Linked DNA regions of Homo sapiens: all the other regions are linked to region 3. The links are contacts of gene promoters, found by promoter capture Hi-C in human tissues and cell types (Jung and others, 2019). All regions are on one chromosome and are shown on one strand. The core of a region is centred on a gene start or on the middle of the fragment in contact, and the rest is flanking DNA. Distances in the headings are between cores, read along the strand shown.

Evidence for each region. Contacts are between HindIII fragments. The study calls those that stand out against the background at their distance.
Region 1: a contact is called between a fragment that was not itself captured here and the fragment with the promoter of FGFR2 in region 3, in 1 of the 25 tissues and cell types used here (dorsolateral prefrontal cortex).
Region 2: a contact is called between a fragment that was not itself captured here and the fragment with the promoter of FGFR2 in region 3, in 2 of the 25 tissues and cell types used here (mesendoderm cells and thymus).

The regions. Positions count from the first base shown.
Region 1 is chr10:121,145,781-121,150,187 of GRCh38, forward strand. The region is part of intron 1 of LOC124902515 (a long non-coding RNA gene); the gene reads right to left. All of the region lies in intron 1 of LOC105378522 (a long non-coding RNA gene), which reads left to right. Among named protein-coding and RNA genes, the nearest start is that of LINC01153, 31 kb to the right of the region's middle. The HindIII fragment of the contact is 5,059 bases long and covers 178-4,407 here.
Region 2 is chr10:121,097,120-121,101,760 of GRCh38, forward strand. No RefSeq gene overlaps it. Among named protein-coding and RNA genes, the nearest start is that of LINC01153, 79 kb to the right of the region's middle. The HindIII fragment of the contact is 5,713 bases long and covers 259-4,641 here.
Region 3 is chr10:121,596,871-121,601,017 of GRCh38, forward strand. FGFR2 (fibroblast growth factor receptor 2) reads right to left here and starts at 1,574. Exons shown (of 18, transcript NM_000141.5): 1 at 1,092-1,574. RefSeq lists enhancers at 1-44, 45-780. The HindIII fragment of the contact is 2,645 bases long and covers 63-2,707 here.

The DNA of each region.
Region 1 (4,407 bases), core at 1,457-3,956, 450 kb before region 3:
CTTTGCCATTATGTAATGCCCTTGTCTTTAAAATTTTTGTTGGTTTAAAGTCTGTTTTGTCAGAAACTAGGATTGTAATCCCTGCTTTTTTCTGCTTTCCATTTGCTTGATAAATTTTCCTACATCCCTTTATTTTGAGCCTATGTGTGTCTTTGCACATGAGATGAGTCTCTTGAATACAGCACACTGATAGGTCTTGACTCTTTATCCAGTTTGCCATTCTGTGTCTTTTAATTAGGGCATTTAGCCCATTTACATTTAAGGCTAATATTGTCATGTGTTAATTTGATCCTGTCATTCTGATACTAGCTGGTTATTTTGCAGACTTGTTGAGGTAGTTGCTTCGTAGTGTCATTGGTCTTTGTACCTCAGTGTGTTTTTGCAATGGCTGGTAACGGTTTTTCATTTCCACATTTAGTGCTTCCTTCAGGAGCTCTTGCAAGGCAGGGCTGGTAGTGACTAATTCCCTCAGCATTTGCTTGTCTGAAAAGGATTTTATTTCTCCTTCACTTATGTATGACCACATATGAAATTCTGGGTTGAAAATTCTTTGCTTTAAGAATATTGAATATTGGCCCTGAATCTCTTCTGGCTTGTGGGGTTTCTGCTGAGAGGTCCACTGTTACTCTGTTGGGCTTCCCTTTGTAGGTGACCTGGTCTTTCTCTCTGGCTACCCTAAATATTTTTTCCTTCATTTTCAACTTGGAGCATCTGATGATTATGTGTCTTGGGGTTGATCTTCTCATGGAGTATCTTACTGGGGTTCTTTCAATTTCCTGAATTTGAATGTTGGCCTGACTTGTTAGGTTGGGGAAGTTCTTCAGGATGATATCTTTAGGTATATTTTCCAACTTCGTTCCATTCTCCCCACCTTTTTCAGGTACCCCAATCAGTTGTAGGTTCAGTCTTTTTACATAATCCCACAGCTCTCAGAGGTTTTGTTTGTTCCTTTATTTCTTTTTTCTCTAATGCTGTCTGCCTGTCTTATTTCAGAAAGATAGGCTTCAAGCTCTAAAATTCTTTCCTCTGCTTATTCTATTCAGTTATTGATACTTGTGGTTGCATTGTGAAGTTCTCGTGTTATGTTTTTCAGCTCCCTCAGGTCATTTATGTTCCTCTGTAAACTTGTTATTCTGGTTAACAGCTCCTGTAATGTTTTGTCATGGTTCTTAGCTTCTTTGCATTGGGTTAGAACATGCTCCTTTAGCTCAGCCAAGTTTGTTATTACCCACCTTCTGAAGCCTACTTCTGTCAATTCATCCATCTTAGCCTCTGTCCAGTTCTGTGCCCTTGCTGGAAAAGTGTTGCAATCATTTGGAGGACAAGATGCCCTCTGGTTTTTTGAGTTTTCAGCATTTTTTCATTGATTCTTTCTCATGGTTGTGAGTTTATCTAGCTTCGATCTTTGAGGCTGCTGACCTTTGGATGGGGTATTTTGGGGGACAATTTTTTGTTGATGCTGTTGTTGTTGTTGCTTTCTGTTTGTTTTTCTTTTAATAGTCAGGCCCCTATTTCATAGGGCTGCTGCTGTTTGCTGTGGGTCCACTCCAGACCCTATGCCCCTGGGTCCCTCCCACACCTGGAGGTGTCACCAGTGGAGGCAGCAAAACAGCAAAGATAGCTGCCAGCTCCTTCCTCTGGGATCTGTCCCAGAGGGGCACCGACCTGATGCCAGCAGTAATGCCCCTGTAAAAGGTTTCTGGTGACCCCTGTTGAAGGGTCTCACCCAGTCAGTTACCCTGCTTTGGGCTCCTCATCATCCTTGATTTCTTCTTTCTTAGCAGTCATCAGCAATTTTTTTTTTTTTTTTGCTGCATTTCTTGCTAGAGTATAAGCTCCATGGGGAAGAAACCATGCCTTATTTGCCCTTTATTCCCAGAGTACATAGTAAGTGCTCAATACATATTTCCTAAAATAAATGAACAAGTAAATGTAGAAGTGCCACCTCTCTTTACAGAGCAGCTTCCACCCCCTCCACACCCCTACACCACCAATTGTTATGTTCGCTCAATGGGCTGGACCACCAACTAATCTAGGATCAAGACCAGGGGCAGGGGAAGAAACATGGCTAGAGCCAGTGTTCCTCAGCAGGGTTGCTACCAGTGTTTTGGATGAAATTCTTATTTTAGGAACTTGACATCCTAGACCCCAAATAGTAATGCTTGACTCACTCCTAGTCCCTGTGAGAACCACAGTTCTAGCATCTTACAATGGAGCCACTCTGATCTCTGTTGAAAATGCCCCACAGTCTGAAAGAGACACATGCTAACCACTAACAAAGCACAGGTGTTTGCATGTTACACAAATCCTGCAGTTTTTACTAATAAATGTATTCAGAAAGGTAGGGTAAAATTGCTTATAATAATTAAAATTCTTGTTTCTAGATTTTTCCAAGACTGTCTTGAGGTTAGCATCCCAGGAATTCCTTCATTCCCAGGCAGGCCAGGATGATCAGCAAATCTAGGTGTCAATGTGACCTTTGAAGGATGCATGTTCTTTTCCGGAAGCTGTCCTGCAGGACTATTGAAAATAGGTCTCAGATAATTTTCCATTCTCAGTGTGGTAGAGAATCTCTGATCACACCCTTACCATTGCAGATTGGAGGATGGACTCTTAGAGAGGCATACGACTCTTCCCTGTTCACCCAGTAAAGTTTTTCCATGACAGCCATTTCCTGCTGGCAACATCAACATCCAAAGTAAAGTAAAAAGCAATGTATATGTTACTATATCCTTCAGTCTCTTCAGGAATTCATGCACTCCACTTATCTCTGACTGGCTCCTGGCTGTTTCTAGGAGTGAATAGAGCATGGCAGAAGGCAGGAACTGCACAGGAGATAATAACAAGGCATCCTGTGATCTTCACCCCATGCCTTATTGGATCAACTGTGAAGCCATGAGTACGACCAAATGATTCTGGAATAATAGGACATAAGCAAATGACTAAAATTTCAGGGGCTTTAGTTTCTCTCCAACTAAGAAATGAACTTAGCTGCTTGCCAAATTGCATACTGAGATATTTAAGAAAGCAGGGGGAATTTAACAATTAAAACTATTTCCATCTTAATTTTTTAAAAGTAGGGATAAAGGGCTATAGACCCAAGTTCCAGGCTCCTTCCCTATCTGCCTATCGAGTTACCTTTAACTTGGCGATTACAAGGCAGACGGGAGTGCCTGGATGTGGCCACATGAAAAGCACCTTGGCGGTTATCTCACAGTCGGCCGCTCACAGAACAAGAAGGGTCTTTCATGCAGCGGTGCAGGGCCCAGGGAGCACAGAGATGCTCAGGGCACCTCAGTGTTCCAAAGCAAGTCTTCATATCGCAGCCACTCAGGTGGAAAGAAGGGCCTGCCCCGTGCTCCTCTGCTCACGTCTAGGGTCACAGATGAATAGAGCCTGATTGAGGAGCAAAGCAAGCCTCACAAGCAGCTCGATGATGTGCAGAGGAAGGTATTTTGTTCAAAGATAAGGTTGGAGTCGGGGAGGCTGTGGGGTTCCTGGGGCGGTCAGTTGATATCATCGGAGACAACACAGCATTGCTGAGAATGGCCAGCTCCCTCCTGGCCATGATGAAGCCGAGAGGACAGCGTGGCTTGTGTAGGTGCCAATGGGAACTGTGTCTCCATCTGCTTCCAGGAGGCTTAACTTCCAAGAATAAATAATTGACTTTAAATTTCACCCCACACACTTGTTTGGTGGCCCCAAATAATTTTCCATTCCATAGAACCTCAAAACTACAAGCCATCATTTGTTGAGTACCTCTGCCAGACAGGGGCAAGGGCAGTAAGCACAATGGTTAAGAACACAGGCTCTAGAAGGAGGCTCCAAATCCTGCACAGAGTAGGTGCTCAATGAACAATAACTACTGTGGCTATTATGGACAAACCAAAACAGTGATGGCCACTGGTTGAAAATGCCCATCTGAAAAAAAGAACAAGCATGAACACAGGGTGTCTTTCCATTTATGTATACCCTCTTCAGTTTCTTTCATGAATGTGTTACGGTTTTCAGTGTACAAACCTTTCACCTTCTTGGTTAAATTTATTCCTAAATATTTTATTTTTTGATGCTTGCTATAGTTTAGATGTTTGCCTCTCCAAACCTCAAGTTGAAATTTTCTTGATTTCTTTTTCAGATACTTTGTTGCTAGGGTATAGAAATGCTACTGGTTTTTGCATGTTGATTTTATATCCTACAACTTTACTGAATTTGCTTATTGCTTCTCAAAGCTTTTTGGTGGAGTTTTTAGGGTTTTCTATATATAAGATCATGTCATCTTCAAACAGAAACAATTTCACTTCTTTTTTTCCAATTTAAATGCCTTTTCTTTCTATTGTCTAATTGCTATGATCAGGACTTCTAGTACTATGTTGAACAGCAATTGTGACAGTGAACATCCTTGTCTTG
Region 2 (4,641 bases), core at 1,865-4,364, 500 kb before region 3:
GCCTAGGCTCCAGAACTTACACAACTTATGCTGCATTCTGCTGGTCAAAACAAGCCACAAAGCCAGACCAGGTTCAAGGGGTGGGCAGTAGACTCCACCTCTCGAGTCTACAGGGAGTTGCTCAATATCATCGTCATTATTTTTCAATCTACCCCCAGAAATAAACTGGAATGCCTTAGCTTTCATATCTCCGTAGAAATCCACAAGACTCCATGAGCAGTTTCAGCCCCTTGCTACCAGCATGAGTCAGTCAAAGCCAATTCACTAGCTGAATTATGAAACTAAGCTCTCTTATCAGCCTTGCCTAAGCCTTTTGATAGCTTTTCTTAGAATCTTGGTCTAATTCTGAAGGCAGCCCGAGGTAAGAAGATATGTTCACTGGGCCCTGGAAAGTAGAAACTAAAAGCCTATGGGAGACACCCGTGTTTACAAGAAAATGAAGATGCAGCCCTGTTAGCTTTCCCCATCCTGTTCCCTTTACCTGGATGCCACAAATAAGGGGTCACAGGGTGATACTAGACACTATAGAGCCTTAACATTTTCAACTAGATCATGAGCATTTCCTGGAAGTGTTTCAAACTTTCTCAAGCTTTCTTTGGGAAATTCTCTGAGCATTTTCTTATCTCCAAAGTTGAAATCAGAGCAATTTTTTTTTAACAAAAAAATTAAAATTCCTTGCTGATGTGGGCTATCAGATACTTCCTGTGGAATACTGATCTCATTATTTATAAGTCAAATGCTTTAGGATCAGTCTGCTAACAGATGTACATTTAGTTGTAGTATGTCTTTGATTCATAAGCCAAAAGAAAAAATGTTTACTGATATAACATGTAATGCATTTTTACCTTTAAATAAAATTTCATATAAAAATATAAATGTATTAAATATATACCTCTAGAGGCTAAGGAAATAGTAAAAAATATTTCTCCTTCCTCTGCTTAAAGCATTCTTTTCTAAAGTAGCCATTTTAAAAAGTCATCATCAAAATGCATGAAAATGGAACCTTCCCAAGACACCATTAATTCTCCCGTAGAGAAAGCCAATGTGGTTGATTATTTGCTTTATGAAAGTGTTGATTTTTTATGACTCTTTGTTTAAAGCTATTTATCATTGAAAAGGCTGTGCAAGGCCAGATATAGAATTCATTTTCAAAGGTAACTTATACCAAAGAGGCAGCAGTGGTATTATCTGCCATGTGGACTTAAGAACTCTTGTTCTCTGAGTAGGTTTTAAATCAAAAGCGTTAAGTAGAGTTTAAGCCCCGTGTCATTTTAAATTCCAAGCTTTAGATCCATGAAGCATGGATTTTATGATGGAAATGACAACTGACCCTCATCTGTAACAAATACAGCAAACTAACTTTGTGGCTCCCTCAGTAATTCTGAGCAAGTAGTGCAGGCAGATAAGATATGAATGACTAGGAAAATGTGTATAAAATCAATTGCCAACGAGTGGTTCCTGAGGGCTTACCAGTTGTCCTCTCAATGTTCAGCTGGTGTTCCTGTCTGCCTGTGCCCTGGAAAGGGCTTCCTATCTGCCAGTCTCTCGGTAAAATTTTTTATAAGCAACTTTACAGAATTTACCAGTATTTACTGGAAATAATAGTAAAACAATAGCAGTTACCACTTATTATTTACCATATGCCATGTACTAGGCTACATACTTTCATGCTTTATGTCATTTTATCCTTACAACAACTCTGTGAGATAGTTTGCAGATGCTTTTCCAAGTTTTATAGACAAAGAAATTGAGGCTCACAACATTTAATAATTTTCCCAAGGCTGCACAGATTATAACGAGCAATGCTGAGACTCAAACCCAGATCTGTCTGACTCAGACCCTGAGCTCTAATCTATTGCAATAGTCTCACACTTAATCAACCACCCTCCTTGTGTTGCTATCTCCCTAATTACAGTGTAAGCTTCTCAAGAGGAGAGACATGCTATATTCTTCTATGGTATCTTCCAGGGTAACTGGTACAGACGTTCAATACAAGGAATTTATCTGCTAGTTTAAAAAAAATTGTATATTCATAATTCACTGAGGCTTAGAATATCTGTCTGAAAAGTCCCCATCTTTCAGGGAGTTTTTCAGTGCCAGAGCACAAAATAATTTTCTTTAGCGTTCAATTTAAATTTAATCAGCTAAAAACTCACAAACTAGCAAGCCATGTTTGGAATGAAACTCCAGTGAGGCTGAAACAATACAGGAGGTGAGGAGCAGACTTCTTGGAGAAAGCAAAAGAATATGCAAAGACGCATCAATTAATCATACAGTGCTTCGGATGATCAATGTCTCCTTCAACGCGCCACAGAGCTCTGGATTTGAGAGGAGTGTTAGCATTAAAGCTTGATAAAGTTATAGTCATCTCACAAATTCCACTGTCACCTCATTAGATATGAAAAATAGAATGCTTTAGGACACTTGGAGATATTTTCAGTAAAAATAACATTTTTTTCTTTATAAGGGAACTGAAAACCACCTCCTAATTGCATTGTGAGCAGTCATGACAGACTGCACAGCCAGTGGGGTCAGAGCCAGAGGTCTGGTAGTGTAAACTGTCCTCCAGCCTATGAGGGTTTCCTCTCCAAAGAGAAATTGTTGTTAAAGCCTTAATTGAGAGGTCAGTGGTCTTAGGACAGGCAGGAGATAAGCCACCAGCTATGTGAAGTAATGTTGACTTTGATCTGCCAGGCCTTTTGGCATAGAAAGAAAGCCAGCCTTGAGCCAGAGGTTCTCTAATCTTCTTAAAGATAAGCTGTAACTGTTTGGCTGGGGTGGGGGTCCAGAGCAGAGAAAGGATTTCTCTTTTTGTGCTGTGGCCAGACTTATGAATGACTCAGTTACTGCCTGACATCCCTGCCCAGGCTCTAACCATACTCCGGAATGGCAAGGCAACCTGTCCTAAGGGGGCTTGTTGGAAGGAAGAGTCTTGAAGAGAAGACCATTATATCTACGGGAGTTACCACCATTCCCTTCTCAGGAGCTGCTTTGGAAGATGTCCAGTGGATTATTTCTCCAAAGAAAGCCAGGATCAGCAGATAACTGATCAAAATGTCTCAGGAAAGGAAGTGTGGGTGGGAGGGAGAGAAGGAGAGAAGAAAGAAAGATTTGAAGAATTGAGTTGTTCGGGATCTCTGTGCAATTCCAAGTTTATGAAAATAGAATCGTACCACTTAGCAATATATATATATATATATTTATAATATATATATATTGCAAGCATATATATCTATTTATTACAGTATGCATATAGCTATATATGCATATAGCTTTTTTATTTCTCCATAGCAAAAGATCAATTTATAGAAATTGGTGGAGGTTCGTCCAAGAAATGGAATCTTTCTGCTAGAAAGACAGCTCAGAAGTTGGTAAATTCTGCCTTGCCTCTCACTGATTGGAAATCACCGAAATGATTGATTCCTGGGATTGGAAACCACGCAGACAGGAAATAATGGGACCAAATGACTGAAGGGGATCTTGAGCACTCTCAGATGGAGAAAGGATCAGTGCCACTGTCAGGAGTCTTTGTATAACCCTTCTGCCCTTACAGTGTATTTTAAGGCGTCACTTTATAAAGCTTCAGCCAGAGAAGGGAGAGATTTGGGGTGCTTTACAAATGGGTGAGCCAAGATGCATAACTTGTGTTTGGAAAAGAGAGCTCAACTACAAGTAGCACCATTCAGAATAGACATGGATCCTCCAATCCCGAAGTTCAGAAAAAGTTTCTTCCATCCAGTCAGGCACTATAAACTCTGACCCAAACAGAACGTGGGCACCATCTACACTAACGTTCATCCCAGCAACCAAGACTTGGTAGGCATATGTGTACCCTTGTAGCTAGGCATGATGCCACAGTAATGACTGCTTTCCACATCTAGTGGGCTAGACTGCACTTCCACAAGCACCATCTTGCTTTGACTTGAAGATTTCACAAAACTGCCATGAAATAGGTTGTGCTTATTGCCACCTCCCTTTTAGATTTTCAGAACTGGGGTTCAAGAATCGTGGGTTTACATGTTTGGCTAATAAAGGTTGCTTAGCTAATAAGAGGCAGTGACAAAATCTGTACCTAGATCTTTGAATATAAGACAGAAAACATACTAAGGAGGCACCATGCAGCAAGACCCCAATGTCAACTTCCAACTAACATTTTATAGTAATTGGTAATTTAGACTAGAAAGGAACCTCAGATGCCAACTCTCTTCAAGTCGGGAAATTCCCCATGGAAAGACATCCAGACCTAGACTCCCACTCATCCAGTACTTATACCATGGTGAATATCAATATCCATCATGGATCATCAGGGCGTCACCAGCCAATGGAGTCTTCACCTTCTAAAATATTGCTGGTTGCCATGGCACAGGGAAAGAGAATGTGGTAAATTATGCTCTAGCTCTTGGCTCTGCCATTCACATTTCAAGGGCCAAATCAAGTCACATGATCACGCTTAACTTCAAAGGCGGGAGAGAAGTGCCACTCTACTATGTACCAGGAAGGGGGAAAAAAGAAGAATTAGTAAATGTCTTAATGGCTTTCCCAGAGTCCCTCTCATGAATCCAGGGAGATATTGATAATCAGTGTGCTCCATTGAAGTCAGTGGTCACAGATGTGAATTTTGTTAGTGTATTCCTTGAAGAA
Region 3 (4,147 bases), core at 324-2,823:
GAGAGAGGGGCGCCTGATTGCTTTTCTATTCAAACTAAACAGGCTTTTCAGATGAAAATGAGTCGAGCCCGGTGGAAGATTTACAGGGATTTGGGACCAGGGAGACAATGGAGTTTTAAATGTTGATAGCGTTTCACACCAAACACATAATGGGTGCCCTGAGTTTGAAAGCAGGTTTGCCTTTAAGGGTAGGTTTTATTGAATTGGGAGAAAGGAAGGAGGGTCTGGAGAACGGTCTGCAAGGGAGCGGGGTGCGAGGAGAGCGACGGAGGCTGGTGGTCCCCGAGCGGGCCTCCTGCGCCAGGTCCGTGGTCCGCGAGGGTCGGAGCCAGCGCCACGCAGGGCCCTCGGCTTTTTTCCCCAGCGCGGCCCCGTGGCCGAAAAAAATGAGCGCGCAAGTTAGAACTCGCCTGCGCTTTCGACATCTCCCAGCCGCTGCGGCAGAGCAGGCAGGCGAACTAGAAAAAGTCGGTCCAGTTCGCCCCCTAGCCCCAGGCGCACTGCGCTCCCTCCAGCGCCGACGGCGGCTGCGGGCGAGGGGCGCCCAGGCACCGGAGCCGTCGCCTCCCCAGCAGTGCCACCCCTGGCCATCGCCACCCCTACGGGATGTCACCGGCCCCACCCCAGCGGCCCCCTCCCGAAAAAGGGGTCTCCGCAGGGCCTGGATGGTACGGAAGTTCCCAGGACACACGGATGGGGCACCTCGGAGATGACCCCGGGAACCGGCCTGCGGGGCTGTGCCACGGGCAGGCGAACCTTCCGCCCGTCTGCTCTGGGGTCGGAGAAACGCGCCCAGTCAGCGGGAATGCGCCCGCCAGGGTTTGACAGGGAGGGGGGCGTCAACGCCAGAAGCAGATGTCAGCATCTGGATGGGGGTAGCAGAGGCAGAACTTCCAGAACGCCGGCCGTCAGCACGCACCCACCTCCCCCATCACCTATGCAGCCACAGAGGGAGGACACGGAGCGTCCTCCACAATGCTAGTCCTTCCGCGCCCCCCGCCCGGAGGACGGTGCACCCGGCGTCCCGGGCTCCCGTGGCGCCCACGTCCCCGGCTGGCGAAGCTCCCCGAGGCGTCTTGCGCGGCGATTACCTTGAATGGCAACGCTCCTCCGCGACCTGTGTTGTCCCCGCGCCCCGCGTGGGTCGGGATGGAGAAAGCGACGAGCCCGGGGTTGCGGGGAGCAACTCCAAACGCAGAAGAGTGGTCCTTGGGTCTTCGCCGGCGCCAAGCCTCCCGGGCTTCACGCGTACCCCAGGCTGCGGAGGAGCGCGGGCATGACGCCCGCGGGCTGCCCTCGGATTTGGGGAACGAGAGGAAGAAAGGACTCAGGCTTGGCGTTGCCTCCACCAAACTTTGCTCGCGAGTTGCGAAGGCTCAGAGCGCGCAGGCAAGCTGCGGCCTCGGGGCCCCCGGGGCTCGCGGCCGGCCCCCGCCAGCCCGGAGAGCAGTCGCCGCGCCGGGCCAGGTACGCCGCATGCAGCCCCGCGGCGCCCGAGCTTTGTGGCGGCCGCGCGCGCTCCCTCGCCCGCTCCGCACCCGCCGCCCGCCCGCTCGGCTCTCCACCGCGCTCTCCTCCAGCCGCCGCCCGCGCCGCCGCCGCCGCCCCCGCCTCCTCGCGGCGGGTCACGCCCCCACTGAAACCCGAGCCGTTTCCTGGACGGCGGCGCCCTCTCTGCCAATCAGCGCCGCGCGCCCGGGCCGCCCCGAGTCCCGCGCGGCTCCCGACGCCTCCGAGCAGCCGGAGACACCGGCCCGGGAGGCGAGGGCTCGGCCGCGATGCGGCCGTAGGGATGCAGCGACAGCCTCCGAATAAGGCCTGGTCCCGCGCCCCGCGCCACCTCCTCCCTCCTCCCCGGGCGAGCGAGGCTGGCCAACGGCTCGCTGAGCGACTGCGTTACGTTGTTTTATGTCAAGTTAGAAAACAAATGACCGAAGGCTCTAACCCTGCCCTCCCGCTAAAGAGACTTTAAAATGCGCCTGCTTGATACTGCGGGGAGGGTTGCCAGGCAGCTGAAGCTTTTGGAGGAGAGGAAGCCACTTGGAAATGTTCGCAGGACATTGCATGTTTCTGTCCTTCTAAACAATAGAAATGAGAGGAAAAAACTGAATATTAATGGAGGCCCTACTATGGGAGGGTCACACTACATAGGTGATTCTATTTCATCTGCCCAACCACCCTGCAGAGTACTATTCCCAGTTTCTGATAAGGAAACAGGATCAGAGAGGTTAAGTAATTTGCCTAGGACCACACAGCTGGCTACTAGGACAGCCTGACTTTGAATGTGGCTCTCTCAGAAAAAGCCAAAATTGCATCAAAAAAAAAAAGTGTTTAATAATATATGTTTGGATTAATAAAAAGAAATTCAAAGGAGTCTAAAGACAACTCTACCATAAATAGACCTTGAACAAAGTAATTCCTCCCTCTGAATCTTAGATTAAAAATCATAAATGCAAAATCTGATTCTTCAACTGCACACCAAGCTGTAACTGGTTAAAGTTCCTATGTCCATTTACCTTTTCACTAAGCCGTGTCTTCGGAATAATTTATTTTAAATATGCTTTTTCTCCCTCCTTATTCATCCAGCTCCTGAGCAGCCGTGCTTAAGTTCAAGACCATATAGATTAAAACCTTAATTATTTTTCTTTAGAAAAGGTCACTAAACCCAGAAATGCTTTAGAATCCTTTTGAGGCCTGAAGATAGATGAAGCATTGAGAACAAACCTGACTTGGAAAACAGACTTTTCCTGGATTTAGAAACATATTTGCACCTGTGTCACTAACATTGCACCCTTCATAACATTTACAAAAATATTTTTCAAGGTGCTACATGATTAGAAAATCATTTTTATTCACAAATATAGCACAGAAAACGTTTATGCAAGTTATTTAAAAGCCACACAAGTAAGAAATCCATTTAACTGCCTCAGGCAAAAGGCTATAACATTGTATTTTGGAAATTTGATAGCAACAAAATAAAAACTGGTTCTTAAGCAAAATTATCCCTCTATATGCTTGGTGGGAGGGTATGTTTTTGGTCAAGTCCTCTAACCTGGATTAGCCCCAGAGCCTATACATTAACGGACACCTCAGCCCAGGTTGACACTTAGCCATTCACTCCCACACGGGTTGTTCTGATAGCAGTATGTTTTCAAGTTCTCAGAAAAGGGATGCAGCTGAACGTGTCTGCCTGCTCGCAGGTTGCCACTTACATCTTTATATTCCCCACCAATGGGAAACTCGAGTGTCTCAGGACAGTTCCTTTCCCATCCTACACCGCATCCATCAGCCATTGAAAATGCTGTTAACACATTCTCACATAAATTAATGGTGCAGGAAGCCGCTGTCCCTATCCCCCATTCATCAATAGCTTTATGCATGTTGAATGGAAAGGAAGCTTTCCGCTGAAAATGACAAATAAGAACACCTACTTTCATGTCCAGGCACAGTTTGCAGAATGTATTTTTTATAGAAATGAAAAGACACCAATCTATCAAAAGCTCCTTATTCCCTAAAGAGGGCTCATATATAAGGGACTGAAACCCACAAGACCACAACAGGAAACTCTTCAGTTTTGAGGAGGGGGGGGAAGTATGTTTAGAATTATTTTTAAAAAATCAATTATGTCCCCATATTTAGTCTTCAAGTGACCTCAGACCATCCAGGAAAACCTTCACACCACTGAGGCTTCTGAATGAGAAAATAATCTCTTTACAGTTTTTTCTTTTCTCTTCCCTCTTCAAGTGGCTGGAACCCCTTTCGTCAATGGCCTCCCATGAATGGTGTTGCTAATAAAGCCTATTAATGAGCTTCCACGGCGGAGTGTGAATAGGTAAATAAGCCCCAATCTGTTGAGGTTCTGGGGCAAGGGCAGAAAAGCCAGTAAGAACTAAAGGTGACAGTTTGAACTGAACTGCGAACGCCAGCACCAGGTTTCAGCTGAAAGAACCGCCAGACAAGGACACATTCACAGTTCCTCCACCCCCTACTGAGGTCTCTTTTCTTCGCAATTTTCCCCCCTTTACAAAATGTCTTGAGTAGTCACCCTTTTTTTTTTTCAAAAGCCCTCGAGACGCCCTTCTTTTTTCACTCTAGTAATGATACATCAATGGGAAGGAAGAAAAATGAGGACACCAGAACTCCGATG